Linked DNA regions of Homo sapiens: regions 2, 3 and 4 are each linked to region 1. The links are contacts of gene promoters, found by promoter capture Hi-C in blood cells and fetal thymus (Javierre and others, 2016). All regions are on one chromosome and are shown on one strand. The core of a region is centred on a gene start or on the middle of the fragment in contact, and the rest is flanking DNA. Distances in the headings are between cores, read along the strand shown. Region 1 holds the start of MMGT1 (membrane magnesium transporter 1). Region 2 holds the start of HPRT1 (hypoxanthine phosphoribosyltransferase 1). Region 3 overlaps PABIR2 (PABIR family member 2). Region 4 has its middle 4.1 kb from the start of PABIR3.

Evidence for each region. The method cuts DNA at HindIII sites, captures the fragments that hold promoters and counts their contacts. A CHiCAGO score of 5 or more calls a contact.
Region 2: a contact is called between the fragment with the promoter of HPRT1 here and the fragment with the promoter of MMGT1 in region 1, in 2 of 17 cell types (monocytes and neutrophils). The highest score is 6.2, in monocytes.
Region 3: a fragment that was not itself captured here is called in contact with the fragment with the promoter of MMGT1 in region 1 in 1 of 17 cell types (neutrophils); the score reaches 5.0 in neutrophils.
Region 4: a fragment that was not itself captured here is called in contact with the fragment with the promoter of MMGT1 in region 1 in 4 of 17 cell types (total CD8 T cells, total B cells, naive CD4 T cells and 1 more); the score reaches 7.7 in total CD8 T cells.

What each region holds. Positions count from the first base shown.
Region 1 is chrX:135,972,170-135,975,483 of GRCh38, forward strand. It overlaps MMGT1 (membrane magnesium transporter 1), which reads right to left and starts at 1,819. Exons shown (of 4, transcript NM_173470.3): 1 at 1,428-1,819. The coding sequence starts at 1,506. It also overlaps a transcript of SLC9A6 not described here. RefSeq lists an enhancer at 1,368-1,897 and a silencer at 1,908-2,017. The HindIII fragment of the contact is 2,640 bases long and covers 463-3,102 here.
Region 2 is chrX:134,458,497-134,461,810 of GRCh38, forward strand. It overlaps HPRT1 (hypoxanthine phosphoribosyltransferase 1), which reads left to right and starts at 1,669. Exons shown (of 9, transcript NM_000194.3): 1 at 1,669-1,842. The coding sequence starts at 1,816. RefSeq lists silencers at 1,541-1,660, 1,761-1,940. The HindIII fragment of the contact is 6,801 bases long and covers 1-3,314 here.
Region 3 is chrX:134,770,262-134,773,575 of GRCh38, forward strand. It overlaps PABIR2 (PABIR family member 2), which reads right to left. Exons shown (of 10, transcript NM_001387468.1): 10 at 1-2,022. The coding sequence ends at 1,878. Among named protein-coding and RNA genes, the nearest start is that of PABIR2, 25 kb to the right of the region's middle. The HindIII fragment of the contact is 2,030 bases long and covers 641-2,670 here.
Region 4 is chrX:134,801,433-134,804,746 of GRCh38, forward strand. It overlaps a transcript of PABIR3 not described here. Among named protein-coding and RNA genes, the nearest start is that of PABIR3, 4.1 kb to the right of the region's middle. The HindIII fragment of the contact is 7,504 bases long and covers 1-3,314 here.

The DNA.
Region 1 (3,314 bases), core at 569-3,068:
TCCCTAACATGAGCATTATATATAAAGAGGTCTCACTGCAGTGGCAAATCCACAAGGCATTCTCATCACCCAAAACATAAAATACAAAAATCTTAATTCTAGATGAACCTAGGACAATCCCTATTTAATAACGTACTTTGGACTAAATAATTCAAACTGTTTTTGAGTGCATGTGTATTGACTCTTGAAGAAGAATGTGTTTAGAGACATTTCTTAAGTTTTAACCTACAGCTCTGTCATAAAGACAAGTGTAAAAGAAACATCAAACCAACACCAAAAATCGATTTTGACTAATCTCCTATCTGGTTCAATTCCTAGCTAGCTTGCTAGTTTGCATGAAGCCTCGCCTGCTTCTAACACTACCTTTAACCAGGAATTTCCTCATCTGTAAAATGAAGGGGTTGGACTTCAGTGAACTCCAAAGGCCCTTCTCGCCCCACAATCATATAATTCTACAGTTAAAGCTTACTGTAGAAAATGACACAGTACTCCAGTGTATCCTAATCTCTTCCAGGACAGTGTTTCTCAAACTAATGCGCATACAAATCACCCTGGGATCTTATTAAAACCCAGATTCTGATTGAACAGGTCTGGCCTGAGTATCTTCTAATTACCTGCCAGGTGGTGCTCATGATGCTGGTCTGTTGATCACACTGTAAGCAGCAAGGATCTAGGATACTTTCCTTAACCTCCCAGTTCCCCCAAAATATGACTGTCCCTGCTTCCATGCATCCTTATATACTTTTAGCATATCACTTTATTGTAACTACTTCTTGATCCACTTGTTTTCCTTTAGACTTTGAACTGGCTCAGGGCATCACTGTATCTCTAGCACCTAAACACAGCGCAATTTCAAACAGCGACCCAAAACTGAATTTCATAACGCAGTGTAGCACAAATCTTTTGCCCAACGTCACACAGATGTAGCGGTAATGCAAGTTTTTAACAACCAGTCCTTTAGACTCCCAGTCCAGTGCTCTTTCTCCTGTACCACAGTGCCTCCCTGAGGCAATCGGTCACTTAACTACTCAGTCTCTGCCTGGACAGCCCAAGAGTGCCCAAGATGTTGTCCACTTGGTTGTCGTGGGACCATGAGCAACCAGAGTCCTCAATCTCACAACTGTGCCTGATCTGCCCCATGCTGGATCTGACATCACTTGTCCTGGATTCCTGGAGACTCCTATTCTGAACCCTCTCCCAGACACCTCCTTCCAACCTTCCTGCAATTTCAGGTGCCACACTCTCTCCAAATTCAAACTCCGAACCTTCCACTGGGAACTCCTGCACTGATTTTCTTAGTCACCCCAAACTGTAAGGTCTCAAAGGACCATTAATCTGACACTCGGTCCGATGGTCCCTTAGAAGTGCGCCCACACACCGCCCCTAGGGTTCCACACCGAAGCGGTCCCCGTGCCCCAGGCACTTACGCTGCGCAGCGGAAAAGGCGGCGTGGGCTAGGGCAAAGAGACCGATGCCCACCAGCCCCTTCCACAGCGACGGCGCCATGATGCCGAAGGAGCAGCAGCCCAGCAAAAGAAGCGAAGGACGGCGGAGCTGTTTCTTCTTCCACCGGCGGGTGTCCGCGCGCCGCAGAAAGATGACGTCACTGAAGTCCTGAGCGCAAAGTGTCTCAGTGGTGGAAAAGCCAGAGGGCTGTGAGAAAACGGAAACAGGAATGCCGGGAAGAAGCAGAAAGCTACACGGAAAAAGGTCCGCGAGAACCCACGAACCTGCGCTATGGAGGCCTCTCTAGGAGGGCCGGAGCCCAACGGAGTCATAAACGAAGAGGCGAAAGCGGGAGCTACGGGGAAGCGAAGAGGAAGGGCGCCGGCAAATGGGGGCAGGGCCAGTGGCGAGAACAGGGTGGGGCAGAGGGACGGGGGCCTGCGTAGAGAACGTGTGGGGGCGAGGGGCGGGGTAGGCAGACGGGCGGGGTGGGGAAGACGCGCGGGGCCCGCACGAGGGTGGGTGTAGCCGAGGGGCGGGGCCAGTGGGTGGGTGGGTGGGCGTAGCCGGGGGGGGGGGGCCCTGGTGGGTGCGGTCGAGTGGCGGGGCCTGCGGGGAGGATGGGTGGGGCCGAGGGGCGGGGAGGAGGTGGGGCCGAGGGGCGGGGAGGAGGTGGGGCCGAGGGGCGGGGAGGAGGTGGGGCCGAGGGCGGGGCCTACGGGAGGATGGGTGGGGCGTAGGGGGCGGGGCGGAGGGGACGGAGAGTGGGTGAGGGCCGAGGGGGCGGGGAGGAGGTGGGACCGAGGGGCGGGGAGGAGGTGGGACCGAGGGGGCGCGGAGGAGTGGGACCGAGGGGGCGGGGAGGAGGTGGGGCCGAGGGGCGGGAGGAGGTGGGGCCGAGGGGCGGGGCTGGGGGCGTTGGGGAAAGGCGGTAGGTGCTGGATATAGACCCCTGACAGTTGTGTTTTGTGGGTTGGTTGGTTTTGGCTTTTTGTGAAACTGTGCCTTTTGTTTTCTGTAGGCCTTTCCTGTGCTTCAGCTCCCTGGAAACTGGCACTGCAGAAGGAGGCAAGGGTGTTAAAACGAGGAGGCAGTGTCAGGACAAAATCCCAGGATCTGGAACCCCAAATACTTGGCTCGCGGGAAGTGCTCAGTAAACCATTTTAAGGTCCTGGAGAAAGATTCGCGCAAAAAGAGGTGTAGCGCGGGGGGAGTGTTTTGTCGTGAAAAGAACCAGCTTACATTAAGGAAGAAATGAAAGAGGAAATTTTAAAATGCTAATAACGCAGCCTTCTTGCCTTGTCTCTATCTCTGATCCGGGTAAAATGTATACTCCTCTGCCCATTTTTCTTTGTCTTCATCTCCTGAAATGTAGACATTTAATAGTGAGCTTCTCCCCTTGACCTCATCACTCTGCTGTCCCCTGGGGAGCTCACCCATTCATTCCCACCGCTTCAGCCAGCAAAGGTATTACAGTGATTCCAAATCGACATCTCTATCACAAATATCTCTCCTTAGCTCCAGGGCTGCATTTCTGACTACCAGATAGGCATTTATTTCCTGTGGCACTTAAAACGTAATATGGCTAAAATGGAATTCATCCTTTTTTTCCAAATTCTGCACCAGTTCCTCCAGTGACCCCTGACTGAGTGGCAAAGCTTTGTAAACTGCATATCACAAGGTAAATGCAAAGTATGATCACCATTCTTTTCCTTTAACCCAATCAGAATTCTACGTTTTAGTTGCATCAATTTGCTTTTGCTCAAAGATGCGTCCTATCCTGACCACCCCTTTTAAATGTGCAAAATTCCTATTCCTGATCCCCTTATTCTGTTCTACTTTTTATATCACCTTCTAACATACTATAT
Region 2 (3,314 bases), core at 419-2,918, 1.5 Mb before region 1:
TAAAGAGGGAAGACAGGGAAAGTAGGGAAGTATGGACTTCACAAATTCATACATGCTAAAATTATAACAGCTACTGTTTCTTGAGCACCTATTATGTGGCAAATACTATATGAGGTACTTTACATAAATGATTTTTAGAATTCTCGTAAAACTCTTCATGGCAGTAGTTATTATTCTCTCTCTCTCTCTTTTTCTTTTTTCTTGAGACAGGATATTTCTCTGTTGCCCAGGCTGGAGTGCAGTGGCACAGTCTTGGCTCACTGCAGCCTGGACCTCCTGGGCTCAAGCCATCCTCCCACCTCAGCCTCCCAAGTAGCTGGGGCTACAGGCACATGGCCACCAGGCCCAGATAATTTTTCATTTTTGTAGAGACTGAGTCTCACCATGTTACCCAGGTTTATTATTCTCATTTTTTAGATGAAGAGACTGAGGTCCAGAGAAGCTCAATGACTTGCCTAGTTTTACAAATCTCCTGCCATCACATACCCCTCAGCGTCCTTAATAAGAGGGAGGCCACCAACTATGTGCTGGGCACTGTGGTGGATGCTGGAGCTATAGGGTTGAGTATATAAGAAATGGTGTTGCTGGAGCAACTGTTGCTTGCTTACCTGACCTATCTGAGAATTAATTAGCAGGGGAACATATTTTTGTTTTCAGATTCAATATAAGAACTTGTGTGGGCAAAAATAAAGATCAGTAGTAATAACAGTAGTTCCCATTTGCTGACTGTACTGTCCTAAGTGCATATATATATACATACACACACGCATACCTATACTCCTCTAATACTCAAAATGATCCTGTTTATGTATTGTTAATATGCTCATTTTATTTTTAAATTTTTATTTATTTTTATTTTTATTTATTTTTGAGACGGAGTCTCATTCTGTCGCGGAGGCTGAAGTGCAGTGGTGCGATCTCAGCTCAGTGCGACCTCCGCCTCCCGGGTTCAAGTGATTCTCCTGCCTCAGCCTCCGGACTAGCTGGGATTACAGGCGCCCGCCTCCACGCCCAGCTAATTTTTGTATTTTTAGTAGAGATGGGGTTTCGCCATGTTGGCCAGGCTGGTCTCGTACTCCTGACCTTGAGTGATCCACCTGCCTCGGCCTCCCAAAGTGCTGGGATTACAGGCATGAGCCACCGCGCCGGGCTAATATGCTCATTTTAGTGAGGCAAAAATAGAGGCTCAGAGTCTGATTTGTACAAAACTACAGAGCAGTTAAGTGTCCTCTCAGATGTGTACCCTGATCTGGGTGACTCTAGGACTCTAGGTCTCAACTGTTACAACCAGTTAAGGGTTTGGGGAAGCACTGGGCCAAGAGTCAGGAAAATGGAAGCCACAGGTAGTGCAAGGTCTTGGGAATGGGACGTCTGGTCCAAGGATTCACGCGATGACTGGAACCCGAAGAGCCGGGGCCCGGTTTACGGCCGCCATGAAGCAACGCGCGCCGGTAGGTTTGGGAATCAGGGAGCCCTCTGAATAGGAGACTGAGTTGGGAGGGAAAGGGGCTTCGCTGGGGGAGCCTCGGCTTCTTCTGGGAGAAAATTCCCACGGCTACCTAGTGAGCCTGCAAACTGGTAGGCGCCGGCGTAGGCGCGCGGGCGGGGCCGGGGGCGGGGCCTGCGGGGCGTGGCGGGGCGGGCAGAGGGCGGGGCCTGCTTCTCCTCAGCTTCAGGCGGCTGCGACGAGCCCTCAGGCGAACCTCTCGGCTTTCCCGCGCGGCGCCGCCTCTTGCTGCGCCTCCGCCTCCTCCTCTGCTCCGCCACCGGCTTCCTCCTCCTGAGCAGTCAGCCCGCGCGCCGGCCGGCTCCGTTATGGCGACCCGCAGCCCTGGCGTCGTGGTGAGCAGCTCGGCCTGCCGGCCCTGGCCGGTTCAGGCCCACGCGGCAGGTGGCGGCCGGGCCCTGAGGCGCGGGATCCGCAGTGCGGGCTCGGGCGGCCGGGCCCAGGGAACCCCGCAGGCGGGGGCGGCCAGTTTCCCGGGTTCGGCTTTACGTCACGCGAGGGCGGCAGGGAGGACGGAATGGCGGGGTTTGGGGTGGGTCCCTCCTCGGGGGAGCCCTGGGAAAAGAGGACTGCGTGTGGGAAGAGAAGGTGGAAATGGCGTTTTGGTTGACATGTGCCGCCTGCGAGCGTGCTGCGGGGAGGGGCCGAGGGCAGATTCGGGAATGATGGCGCGGGGTGGGGGCGTGGGGGCTTTCTCGGGAGAGGCCCTTCCCTGGAAGTTTGGGGTGCGATGGTGAGGTTCTCGGGGCACCTCTGGAGGGGCCTCGGCACGGAAAGCGACCACCTGGGAGGGCGTGTGGGGACCAGGTTTTGCCTTTAGTTTTGCACACACTGTAGTTCATCTTTATGGAGATGCTCATGGCCTCATTGAAGCCCCACTACAGCTCTGGTAGCGGTAACCATGCGTATTTGACACACGAAGGAACTAGGGAAAAGGCATTAGGTCATTTCAAGCCGAAATTCACATGTGCTAGAATCCAGATTCCATGCTGACCGATGCCCCAGGATATAGAAAATGAGAATCTGGTCCTTACCTTCAAGAACATTCTTAACCGTAATCAGCCTCTGGTATCTTAGCTCCACCCTCACTGGTTTTTTCTTGTTTGTTGAACCGGCCAAGCTGCTGGCCTCCCTCCTCAACCGTTCTGATCATGCTTGCTAAAATAGTCAAAACCCCGGCCAGTTAAATATGCTTTAGCCTGCTTTATTATGATTATTTTTGTTGTTTTGGCAATGACCTGGTTACCTGTTGTTTCTCCCACTAAAACTTTTTAAGGGCAGGAATCACCGCCGTAACTCTAGCACTTAGCACAGTACTTGGCTTGTAAGAGGTCCTCGATGATGGTTTGTTGAATGAATACATTAAATAATTAACCACTTGAACCCTAAGAAAGAAGCGATTCTATTTCATATTAGGCATTGTAATGACTTAAGGTAAAGAGCAGTGCTATTAACGGAGTCTAACTGGGAATCCAGCTTGTTTGGGCTATTTACTAGTTGTGTGGCTGTGGGCAACTTACTTCACCTCTCTGGGCTTAAGTCATTTTATGTATATCTGAGGTGCTGGCTACCTCTTGGAGTTATTGAGAGGATTATAAGACAGTCTATGTGAATCAGCAACCCTTGCATGGCCCCTGGCGGGGAACAGTAATAATAGCCATCATCATGTTTACTTACATAGTCCTAATTAGTCTTCAAAACAGCCCTGTAGCAATGGTATGATTATTACCATTTTACAGATGAGGAACCTTTGAAGCCTCAGAGAGGCTAACAGACATACCCTAGGTCATACAGTTATTAAGAGAAG
Region 3 (3,314 bases), core at 406-2,905, 1.2 Mb before region 1:
CATCGAAGAATTTTTTCTTTATAATGGCATACTAGGGGACAAGCTTCATAATAGATTTATGTTACGTTTGAAGAAGTAGAGACTTTTCCCAGATGAGAGCAATACAAGAAATAAAGCCATTAATGGCTGTTATGGTTACAATTTAAAATAAAGGACACATCGGATGCTGTAACAGAAGTACTGCACGCTAAGTGATGCTCTCTTGTAATTGAAAGAGAATGGGTTTCCCTTCAAACCATATGCTATTACTAGTCTCTGAGTGCCTTCAAAGCACATACTCTTCCTTTAAAATCCAAGGATCCTTGCCTTCAAAAGACACAAATGCAGTAGTTTTCATTTCTTACATTCACTTAAAAATGGATTATGATTCCAGCAGGCAAATCTGCATATTAAATATAGACAACCCAACCACAGTATCTGAACGTTAAAAGAAATCTATCACGACAGACATTTTACCTAGTTATAAATAACGTAACAATAGATCACACTCAGATTTCTTAAACAGCTCACTCAGGAGTTTCCTCTTTTAAAAATTAAATAACTTATGGTACCTCACACTTATAGCACATACACAGTTCATAGCTGAAACAGCTTCTTAAAAGCAGAATGCACAATCACATTGACTTTTTCAGCTTCTAAAAGCTTCTTTGTAGATATTAAACTGCCCTCACTACAAGGCAGTATGAACAAGAACTGGATTCTGATTCTGGTGGCAACACAATAACTATAAGGCAGTAAGAACAAGAACTGGATTCTGATTCTGGCAGCAACACAATAACTAAAACACCATTCACCACATGACAAAACAAACAAATCCAATGACAAAAAGGAATCGGAAAAAAAGCAGCAACAGAAACAGTATGTGGCAATCATTCACATAAGGCCCCTCTTCCACCATACCTTATGATATACATCCCTTATAGCATGACAATGTACCCCAAGGCACCTGAGGCCTCATAATACCACTCGAGACACTGACAGCTCCATGGACGCTTTTGTACACAGTGGTTTGTGTGTAAATAACTATTCATTCATTTGTAGATGCTCCACACATCTGGTCAAGGCAGGAATTTCTTCTCCTTGATAACACCACCTAGAAATATCAACAATATTTTATATATTCCTTAGGGCAACAGGTTTGAGGAGAAATATATCAACTGTGGTAGCAAAGTCATAAGAACCTGTGATGACTAATCCAAGCATCCTGTAAGTCCGTTTACATTCTCAGCACTAAAATCAATGCTCACTTCACACACCCCAACAGCAAAGAAGCAATAAGAGTAATGAAAGCAACTACGTATTTCTTCCCCTCTGTGAGAAATGGCATAAGCGGCTCAAACAGGAAAGGGAAACAAAATAATGTACTTGAAGCTGATGCAGAAAAATAAAAATTTAATATAATTAAAAGCAATTTATATATCATCATGAAATAAAGAGAGATTTGAAACTATGTAGTCAACAGAGGACAAAAAAAAATCTCTCAAGCAAGAGAATTTCTGATCAAATCTGTCATATCACTGCTGCGGAAAAGGACCATTAAAGGCAATACACATCAGTGCCTTTCTTAAATGTATAGACTCAAAATAGGTGTTTTTTGAGGCACTAAGAAAAAAGATTCCTCTAAGCAATCAAAAATCAGCATTTGAGATTTAATCACTAAATCCAAAATGAGATCAGCAAAACCAGATACTAGTAAGGTCACTAGGCTCACAAAATTGAACTTTGGAGAAGAGAGATGCCAAAGAGTAATAATAGCATCAGAATGTGTGAAATCTGTAAAACTTTAATCCTCATTATGGATCAAAGTTCTCTGCGTTCCCCACTAAACATTTTATGTAGGAAACAGCAGTTAAAACGTTGAATCAGAAATGGTTAAGTCACTTGGGTGAGAGATCATCCATCAAGATGAACGAAGAGCATGAATTGGAGCATGCTACTGGAGACTCTGCGGTAGCGCTGCCTTTAGCCAGCGGGTCTGAGGATAAGCCACTGCTGCTACTACTGCCATCCAAAATATCTGAACTGAAGACAAAGCAAAAAGAATTATAAGCAAATGCAACTATCAGGGTAAACATAACATGCAATGACACAGTTTCAAGAGCTCACAAATCAGTAAATCACTTGTAAATAATAAAAAAGCATAAAGCCACAGCAATGAACTACATAATATACTACATTATAAAGCCACAGAAATCCAAAGTAAGACTCTTCGAGGTCCTGTATCATTTGATTGTCCCCCCTAGAGGCACCAGACCGCCTAACCTACAATAAACGTTCCTCGTGACATGCCATGGTTTTCGGGAGGGAGTTCCTTCACTTCACTTCAGCTCAAGAAATTTCTATTCTTATGTTTACCTTCCCATCAGGCTTGGAGCAAGAGGAATGGTTACTTATTGAGGTAACCATACTCGGACTATCAGAGGTGTTCGATCAAGTACACTGCCTCATAGTTCCTCTACTCTAAAACAAAGTCTTTCAACTCCCCTAGAGTTATCACTTCCCCATTCCCAAAGGGCCTTCAATTCAAACACATTTTTTAAATGATTTCCCCCTCCAATTCTATGCCATTTATAATTCCTTACACTATTTCCTTTCTTCTTGCTTTCAAAACCCAAAGGTCTATTTCTAGAAGAGTCCCTTTCTTTGATCCCTTCAGTTATTCTCCAGTTAAGCTTCTACAATGAATAATCTACACTTGTGGTCTCAATACCCGTTGTCTATTGCCTCTTTATCCTGACAACTGGCTCCTGTTCCTATCCTTCCAGTAAAACTCCAGATCTGGACATCAAGAACCTCTATACCCAGCCCAGGGATTCCTTCCCTATCCAGCCTGGGGGCTCACTGTTCCCCAACCATCAACCTGGCCTGACTCATGAATCTGGCTCCATACTTCAGCAAGGAACTGAGAGCCTTTACAGTCTGGCATCAAGCTGCCTTTCTGGCTTTGGTTTCCATCAATCCAGTAATAAGCTCTATGCTTTATATTTGCCCTGAATTCAATCATTCACTTATTCTAATATTTACTGAGTGCCTGCCAAGTGCAGGAAGCACACTAGATATTAGAAATACAATGGTGTTTAAAACAGACGTGGTCCCAGCCCTCATTGAATTTACAGTATTGTGCAGGAGACAGACATTTAAATAATCATGCTAATAAATATATAATTATAATTTGCAGTAAAAGTGATAAAGGAAAGATACAAGGGGCTATGAGAATATATAACATGGGTAACCTAACCTAATTCGGAGGAATGAGAAAAGGTTCCCCAGAGATGATATTTGCTATAATCTGAAGGATGAGCAGGTATTAACTA
Region 4 (3,314 bases), core at 445-2,944, 1.2 Mb before region 1:
AAGCTAGCCAAAGCAGAAAGCCCCCATTCAGCTTAAGGCCTGATGATCATCAGGGGTTGGGATTATGTCCCAGGGACCCTTTGGCCCTCCAGGGCAGTCCCATTTCCAGTGGCCGAGCTTGTGGCAGAGGGGGCAAGCCATGCGGGGGTTTTTCGTCATTCATGCCATAGGGCCAGTTTGCCTTCCAGTGGCCTGGGCTTCTGCACTGATGGCAGTTATCTGGAGGAGTATCCTTAGGGCAGCCTGGAATGGAGGCTGGGGGCTTGCAAAGCAGCCAACAGTTGAGCCTGCTTCTTGTCCCTGCATTTTTCTTTCTCCTTAGCCCTGTCCTTATCCTGCTCTTGGTTATAAAAGACTGAGGAGACTGATTTGAGGTTTTCTGCATAGGGGCCATGCTGTATTACAAAAGAAAATTCGACTTTTTTTTTTTTTTTAATCTGAGGGTTACATTTGTCTCAGCGTTTTGGGATGCAACTCATAGGTGAGTCTGACGGAATAGAGGAGGTTTGTCCCATGGTGGGACTGGAAAACGATGAGCTGCCGGGGACTAACGTCTGCTGCAGACACGAACCACACTCTCTCGCCGCCCCCACCCCCCTGCCCCACCAGGAAGAGGGCTCAACTCACATCTGCTGAGGGATTCCAGTGCACTTTCTTTTCTTTTCTTTTGAGATGGAATCTCGCTTTGTCGCCCAGGCTGGAGTGCAGTGGTGGGATCTCGGCTCACTGCAACCTCCGCCTCCCAGGTTCAAGCGATTCTCCTGTGTCAGCCTCCCAGGTAGCTGGGATTACAGGCATGCACCACTACGTCCAGCTAATTTTTTGTATTTTTAGTAGAGATGGGGTTTCGCCATGTTGGCCAGGCTGGTCTTGAACTCCTGACCTCAGGTGATCCACCCACCTCGGCCTCCCAAAGTGCTGGGATTACAGGCATGAGCCACCGTGCCCGGCCTCAAGTGCACTCTCTAAAGGGGCATCCCACCTATTAGAAAGGACATCTCAGCGCTGGGGCCTTACGCTGGATGGTTAGCCCCGGTACAAGGAAAAAGGGTAAAGGAAGAACTCAGCCTGGTCCCATCCCAGGAGAGAGGACCAGAATGGGGAGACTCACTGCTCTGAGGCTGCTTGCTATCACCTAATTTGGGAACGTCCAGAGCAGGAGGTCTGGCTGTTTTTGCAGGACTATTTAGAGTAAGAAAGAGGGGCTCTGAGCTCCCCAAAACATATGTGCCAATTGCACTACATAGGGATTGCAGACCTTTTCGCCAGAAGAGATAGGAGAGGGCCTTCTTCCCTTCTAGGCAAGGCAGCCAAACCTGTTCACACCCGCTGGCCTTGAGGCCACACCAGGAAATGGCCCTGACCAGTTGCCATCAATTGCCAGAGGGATACTAGAATTTGTCCTCTGGAAGACTGAAAAGTAAAGCAAATTCTGAAGTCTCACAGAATCGTGGGACAGCAGTCTGGTGTCTTTCCACCAGGACCTTCTGGTTCCCTGGGGAGCAGCCCCGGCCAGGGACTTAAAATTATCTCAGGGTTTTGACACTGTCCAACGAGAGGTTGGAATTGGAGGAAAGGGAGAAAGTAGGGGAGAGGCCCATACGAACTACCAAAATGTTGCAGGTGCAGCTGGCCAGTGGCGCAGGTGGTAAAGGAATTGACCAAGACAGTTGTAGGTAAAGAAAGGCAGATTTACTAGAGAAGGTATGGAAGTATGTTGCAAGGAGGCAAAGGGCAGCACTGCAGAGGAGGAGCTGTCTGCAAAGAGGCAGGGGCTGGAGGGAGCTGGAGGGGGCTGCATGTGGAAACAAGTCATGCTGCTGGGGCCACATGTGGAAGGAGGTCTTTGTGCCCTAGGTCTCTCAGAACAATTTTTCATTGTTCTTCCCCACCTGGGGCCCCTTTCTCATTGTTTCTTACTTATCTTATCAGGACTCCACAAACTCTTTTAATCCTCACCACTTGAATGGCCCTGGGGAAGAGAAGGCCATTGCATTGAAATGTAATAGTTCTGAAATTGCTTTCAAAATTCAGCCAGAAATAATAATTTTGCCTGCCTCTTTTCAATTATCCCATACTAAACTTGCCAAGGCCAATTATCATTTTATTCCTCACTGTTTATGCTTTCTGCCTGCAGTATGAGGGATTTGTAAGTACTTTTAGATAGTTTCCTTTAAATTGCCTGTATTTTTCTCCCAGCTAGATTAGAAACAACAACCTCTGTTTTTGAGCAACTTAGGTATCTCTTTTTATCTCAAGGTCTCAGCAACCCTTAAGGCCAGCCCCACCTCCTACTCCCTGCTCAAAAGAAATTATAATACATTCTTTTGTTCACAATAGCTACTAAACAATCATTTGTTGACCACATGCATGCACTGACCTCAGGAGCTTAACAATTTAGGAGAACGCGAGGAGAATAATGCTACTTTGGCCATCATTTCTAGGTTTTATTAACATCATTCTTGCCTGCTAGTTTTTTTTTTTTTTTTAACCTTTCATGTAAATCTTTTGGGAAGGTTTGGGGTGTTTGTGGTTTGTAGATTTGGGTTTGACTTGTATTTGACTTGCTCTTGTGGTAACTAAAGGTTACAACGTAGCTTCAAGGTTGTCATGACAACTGGTAAAATAAAGAGCTGATTATCACATGTTTGTTGGTTCCCTTTTATAGGTGAGGGCCTGGGACAGACGCAGCAGACTGGGATATGCAAAGAGAGGAGTAGCCTAATTGTCAAGTCTAGATCTAACAAAAGCAGTGTCCCAAGATCATGGCATATTTCCCTGGAACTGGAAGGACTGATCAAGAAACACAGCTAGGTTGGTATAATAATGTGTGCGTAGAAATGGGGAGAAGTAAAAACAATTTCTTTAATGTTGTGTTTGCCATTGTAGCATATAGAATTCTTGCTGTTTTTGTATTACTTGTTCCTTTTGATATTCCAATTTGTGTATGTACTATGAGTCCTATTTATATCTTTACAGGTTTGGGGTTCCTGACATGTAGCTGTTCTTTTGTAAAAGAGAGCTCCTTCTCTTTGATAATAGCTGTAAACTTATTACCATCTCATATATTTAGTTATTTCATATTACTCCTTTTCTTAGAAACATAGTCCCTTAGTCACTCTTCCCTTGTCATTTTATTATACCTATTTTCTTAGTGTTGTTGTACTTATTTAAAAATTAGATACTTGTAATGCTTAGGCAGGATGAAATTTTGTCTATTTATTCAAAATATACGTATGAAACCTTACTACCTGCCAAGAATACTAGCAAAAGTTGAAAATTAAAATGAACACAATGGAGGTAAGATTCCCTTG